Linked DNA regions of Homo sapiens: region 1 is linked to region 2. Evidence: promoter capture Hi-C in 16 types of primary human blood cells and fetal thymus (Javierre and others, 2016). All regions are on one chromosome and are shown on one strand. Each heading gives the region's core, a stretch centred on a gene start or on the middle of the fragment in contact. The rest is flanking DNA. Distances are from core to core; before and after follow the strand shown.

Region 1 (3,236 bases), core at 419-2,918, 600 kb after region 2:
GGCGTGAGCCACCGCGCCCAGCCAATTTTTGTATTTTTTTAGTAGAGATGGGGCGTTTTGCCATGTTGCTCAGGCTGGTCTCGAACTCCTGGGCTCAAGCAATCTGCCTGCCTCCACCTCCCAAAGTGTTGGGATTACAGGCATGGGCCACCATGCCCCGCTGAGACCTCATCATATCACCAGGCCTGGCTGCACATAGGATTTGAAATTCAAAAAAGAAAAAGAAATTGCATTGCATTATTCTCCCCTGCAGGAAATTGTTTTGTTCTCTTAATGTTTGAGTTAGCAGTAGTATTTTAACAATCCCAAGTGTCAGAATTACAGAGAGAAGTTTCACTTCTGGCATATAACATTTCTTTGGCATTTTCTTGACTGTGGCTTTTGAATTGTTAGCGTTTGATGTGTGTGTTCCTGTTTCAGCTTGGAGAACAGCCATCTCTGGAAGAAGCCATCAGAATAGCGTCTAGAATCCAACAAGGAGAAACGCCAGGGTTGGATGATTAATCCTCAGAACAATGGAGCAATAAAGCAGAAGGAGTCTTTCATCTTCTGGCAGCAGAAATCCATGAAGCCCGGGCCCAGGAAAATTAGAAGTTTTCCATTCCTGATACACTGTACACATTTTTATGCGAGAGTGGAGAACATTTTATTCTTGACACTTTTGTGTATATAACCCTTGGAATAGATTCTCAGAGTGATTCATTGTGTACAAGGAAGTATGAAATTAGGGCAATACAGTAAATTTTCATGTTACTCTTTTATCAGATCACAAACTCCTAGAGTCTACATGCAAGACTAGTAAAGTCTTATGGAGTCTTATGATGGATTTTTAACTTCCCGTGGAAAAAAAAATAAAGGCTGTATCTAAAATATCAAAGGTTCTATATGTCACACAATCGTAATTCCAAAAGCCATTATGGATAATAAAGGGTGTAAAGCCTTCAGATATTTCCCCAGTTAGTAGAGTGTCTGCGGTTTTTGTTCTACTATATGCTTGTCCATTTTTATTTGTATCTCATGGTTTGCAGACTGTTTGAATAATTTATAGTTTCCCATCCCTGTTAAAAACCAGCTCTTCAAGCTGAAATGCTAATTATATTGGCATTACATTGAATTATGTACAAAATTATAAAATTTGGTTATTTAAAATTAAAAAGTTAAATCCAGTGGTTTTGTTAAAGATTTTGCTTAGTATTCAATTTTTATTACTGTTTTTTAAAAATAATGAATCATCAAAGTTTAACCACAGGCTGGTGCCCGGGATAACAGTACTGTAATTGGAAATGGCTTTACTCTGAAAATTAGGTTAGTGGGTTGGTGTAAATTATTTATTTTTGCTTATGTACTTTTGTTTTAAAGCTTATTTACCCCAAAGTTTATTATTAATTTTGAATACAGCAATTTTTAAAATGTTACTTTTATATTTATTTATTTATCATATTGGTGGGGGGTTGGGGGGAAATGGTGCAGAAAATATCGCAAATGTAATGGAATGTAACCTAATACACATATTGAAAGGATGTTGTTTATCAAGTACAGAGTAAGTGCTTTTCCATATATTTTTATATATTCACAACAATTTTGTGAGACATATGGGATTTACTACCTCCGTTTTTTACATGAGGAAACCAAGAGTCCAGGAGGGAGGCTGACTGTCGTACCAGCCCTCACAGCTATGGAGAGGCAGGACCAAGACGAGAACCCAGACTTTCTGGCTCCAAGTCTAGTGTGTTTTCACTGCACCACAGTTACCTCCTCAAATGCTCATTTGTGGCAGAGATTATCAAGATGAACTTTGGTGATTTCTGATTGCCTAATGAATTGAGCAGTATAAAAACCATTTTCTAATGCTGGAAAATCAGCGTTCACCAAGGTCAAAAAAAAAAAAAAAAAGATGGTGTGTTCCGCAGCAGCCCCTCCTGCACTGTAGTTCAGCGAGCTTTATTTGCAGAGAGCTGAAATGTGGCTTTTTCATTTCAAGCTTTACAGTAGAAAGGGGAAAACGTTGTGCTGTTTGATTTTACATAAATGTTATCTTTGATCAGGTTCTATGATCTTGCTAAAAAGGATGGTGACTTACTTGAAATCGGAAGCCCTTCAGGGTTGGGCAGAACTTTTCCTGCAGAACCCTTTACAGATGCATAACATTAGCAAAAGCCCTAGTCAACCACCGATCGAGTCTTCATTCTTGACAGAGACACAGACCCACACAGAACTCCCCCCGGAAGCCCACTGAGGCTCAGAAAGGGGCTGTTGGGCGGGGTAGAAGACCAGAATCTGCAAAATCGCAGGCAGGGTGGCGCCCAGCCTCCCAGTGCTGGTCCTGGCTGCTGGCCAGGAGCTCCTCCCCACTGGGCCCAGCCAGGCTGCTGTACTTCCCAGGACCAAAAACCAAGCTGTCAGCCTCCCATGGCCCCTTAGATCTGACTTTGCTCAAATTCCAGGGTGTTTCTCTTTACTCCCAGCACCTTTGCCAGTTGGATTGGGCAGGGCTTAACCTGGACTGTTTTGGTTAGCCTGATTATCCCTCAGCTCAAAAGAAAATGACCTCTGGCACCCAGAGAAAAGGGCCTAGGGTCGCTGCTAGTTTAACCTGACCTGCCTTCTTGGGAATGGGGCCTCAGGAGCCTGGCAAGGTGGCCTGTTTCCTCCAGGGGAAGGGTGCAGTTGGTGTGCTGACAATTGCTAGGAAAGCTGCTATAGGGTCTCTTCACAGTGCAGGACATGGAAACGTCCAAGGTTGAAAAATCCCAAAAAGACACTTGAAATAAGAGTAAACGCTAGCAAACAGAACCAGGTGGGGCATAACCCTCTGGAATTTGATCCAGACAGTGCTCAAGGAAAACCTCTCCGTCCAAAAAAACCACCCTGCTTTGCCCCAGACAAAGCTTGAGGCCACTACAAAGAAAATGTGCCCTAGTCTGAACTCAAAAGAACTTAGAGTTAAGGGAGGGACGAGGCTTTCTTAATTCTCTAGAGGTGACAGCTGCCCAGAGAGCCAGATCTCTCCTTCCCCTCCTACCCACCCCCAGGCCTTCAGGGCAAACTAACTTTGTACAGTGTCTCTTGCTTGCTGCTTGCCTTCCCGTGTGACAGCCCTGGGGCTAGGTAAGCAACTTGGGAAACTGTGGTCTCAGTGCTGAAACTGACTGGACTCCATTTATCAACCCAAGGAGTTTACCGTCCAGTATTTCCTGGCTCAGATAAGATTATAGACTAGTCAACTATTGGTAGAC
Region 2 (2,870 bases), core at 260-2,759:
GAGTGCAATGGTGCGATCTCGGCTCACTGCAACCTTTCCACCTTCCGAGTTCAAGCAATTCTCTGCCTCATCCTCCTGAGTAGCTGGGATTACAGTCACCCGCCACCATGCCTGGCTAATTTTTATATTTTTAGTAGAGACGGGGTTTCACCATCTTGGCCACGCTGGTCTCGAACTCCTGACCTTGGGTGAACCACCTGCCTTGGCCTCCCAAAGTGCTGGGATTACAGGCATGAGCCACCATGCCCAGCCAATTTTTTGTGTGTTTTTAGTAGATGGGGTTTTGCCATGTTGGTCAGACTGGACTCGAACTCCTGACCTCAAGTGATCTGCTTGCCTCGGCCTTCCAAAGTGCTGGGATTGTATACAGGTGTGAGCCACTGCGCCCAGCCAAGTCTCAGCATTGATGGTAAAATGAGCTATAAACTTGGTAACTGGCTATCCCTAACTGCCTTCTCTTACTCATGCCAACTGCAGCATCTGCAACTCTGCTAAAGCCAGATCAACCCTGGAGGGCTCTGGGAGCACAATGTAGGCTGGAGTGACAGACCCCACACAGATATGCCAATCATAGGCCAAACAATGACGACCCCTTTCCACCTTCTCAGGAAGCAAGTCTGTCCACCAAGGTCTACCACCAACAGCCAAGAACAAAGGAAAAAGAAAAGGGCATCCACTTCCCCCAGAGGGGCAGAGACAGGTACCTTGCAAGGGGCTTGTGCCCGGTGAGCCAGGGTGCTTGGAGGGCAAAGGGGTAGGTGAAGGAGAGGTCCCAAGGTGGAGCAGCACCGTCCCAGCCAGGGGCCTTCAGGCTTGTGGCCACGCTGCAGTATTTGAGCAAAGGCATCCTGGGCCCCGTGGAGGATTCCATGGCCTTCAGAGGATCCACCTGAGAATAGGCACCACCATTACCTGAGCTGCAGCTTGAAGCAAGCAGTGGCCACCGGGGCGAGGCAGGGCTCAGCTCTGCAGTTAGCTGCCTCTGGGGACAGTTGAGTCCATGCACGGCCCTACCTGCTCCCACAAACTCTCACAGTTTCCTCTTTGAGTCACCTGCCTTGGGAACCTCCACTCAGGAAACAGGGAAGGGATTGGAAGAGCAAGTGCTGTGAGTTTAGAGCAGCCCAGCTTTAAATCCTCCCCTACAGCCTGCTGGCTGTGTGCTCACTTAACCTCTGCTCTCCAGTTACACTCAGGATAGAATACATGGAAAGCACCTGGCGTATTCAGCAGCTCAACTTATGTTAGTATTTTTCCTCCTTCCTCCTCCCCGGCCACCTACAAGGCTAGTTCTGGCCTCAGGCAAGCTGAGATCTCAGGGCCGTCCATCCCCTTTCCAGCCCTGTTCAGAGGAGACAGCTGCCACCAGGGCCCAAGATCAAGCCGCACTGCTGCAGCCCACCAGAGCCCCGTGAGGGTCTGCCCCTGCCCAAGTCCACAGGTCTGACCCCACAAGGACTTACCCACAGCCCCAAACTCCCAGCCTCCACCTCAGCCTCAGGCTCCTTCTGACAGTTGGGGCTCAGGGTCTCAGCCCAACCGACTCCTGGTTGCCACGCCGGTTACCATGGGTGCAGCCTGGGGACGCTGTCGTCTGTGGCCAGTGAGTGCACCGAGCATGCGGAGAGGGGGACAGGAGGCCTTGGGAGGTAGGGGTGGGGCAGGAAGTGATGGGGGAGGGGGTGTTCTCCAGGTTTCCCTTTGGAGAGAAGAGGAGGAGGAAGAAGGGAAAAAGGCCAGTGTAGCCTCAGTTCTCCAAAGCTCAGGCTGCTCCACTGCTGGAAGAGTCAGTGGTGGTGGGAAGCCCTCACGGATCCCAGGAGACTCCTGTGAGGGAGGAGCCACCTCCGCAGAAACTGAGGGCGTCCTCCCTGTACACACTAGAGGCAGGAATGGGGGAGCCACTGGCGGCCTGGGGACTCTAGGATAGAATTTGTCCCTAGTCTAAACCAAAATAACCAAAGGTGTGGGCCTGTTTGTCTATAACAGGCAGGACTCTGTTGAGGAGCAGAGGTGTTGTGACCATTTGGAGTGAGAGGTGTGGACACTGGCAACAAAGGAACAGAAGTCCAGATTCTGCTTGTGGGAGGGGCTCGTATTTGGAGGCCTCTGCCAGTCACTGTGCACTGGTTATATGCCTGGTATGCAGGCACGTTTGGATGTGTCTCCCCCACATTCATACCCCGCTTCTACCAGGTCCTGTTTCAGTTGGCAGATCCATGTGGATAGGGAGGCCAAAGTACCCACCTCCAGGGGTAGAGTGGGTGTCAGTCACCCCTTCCATCCCCGTCTGGCCCCAGGGGTTGGTCAGGCAGTGGCGTGTTCCTGAACCTCTCCAATCAGCAGGAATCTGGAGACTTTGGTTGGGAATCCTGGGATATAGGCTTTCTCTTTCTTCCTATGCCTGAATAAGAAAGCTGATAGTTCTGAGAGCCTCTGACAGCCTTTTGGGAACACTGAAGCTATTCCCAGAGAAAGAGAGGATAGACCTCAGGAAATAGAGGGTTGGTTGGTTTGTTTGTTTTGAGACAGGGTTGCCCAGGCTGGCCTCAAACTCCTGGGCTCAAGGGATGCTTTTGCCTCAGTCTTCCAAGGAGCTCGGACTACAGCCATGCACCCCAACGCCCAGCTGAAAATAGGTTCTCGGTGACAGTACTGAGTCCTGCCTGCAGGCAGTGCTGCTACTCTAGGCCTCAGCTCTGTGAGCCAATAATTCCCCTTATTGATTATGCCACTCTGGATTGGGCTGTTTCTTACTTGCAACCAAAAGCCTCTTAACTGATGACTGCCCTCCCGAAGCATCACTTCATAGTCAGGAGAATGACTGCTGCCCAGGACCGTATACCAAGGCGGAGTTATTTGGCACACAG

The links. The method cuts DNA at HindIII sites, captures the fragments that hold promoters and counts their contacts. A CHiCAGO score of 5 or more calls a contact.
Region 1: a fragment that was not itself captured here is called in contact with the fragment with the promoter of C11orf16 in region 2 in 1 of 17 cell types (fetal thymus); the score reaches 5.3 in fetal thymus.

The regions. Positions count from the first base shown.
Region 1 is chr11:9,527,110-9,530,345 of GRCh38, forward strand. ZNF143 (zinc finger protein 143) reads left to right here. Exons shown (of 16, transcript NM_003442.6): 16 at 421-1,415. The coding sequence ends at 504. Among named protein-coding and RNA genes, the nearest start is that of WEE1, 45 kb to the right of the region's middle. RefSeq lists an enhancer at 2,547-3,236. The HindIII fragment of the contact is 622 bases long and covers 1,358-1,979 here.
Region 2 is chr11:8,931,438-8,934,307 of GRCh38, forward strand. C11orf16 (chromosome 11 open reading frame 16) reads right to left here and starts at 1,510. Exons shown (of 7, transcript NM_020643.3): 1 at 1,464-1,510; 2 at 705-889. The coding sequence starts at 871. RefSeq lists an enhancer at 1,129-1,967. The HindIII fragment of the contact is 4,544 bases long and covers 1-2,870 here.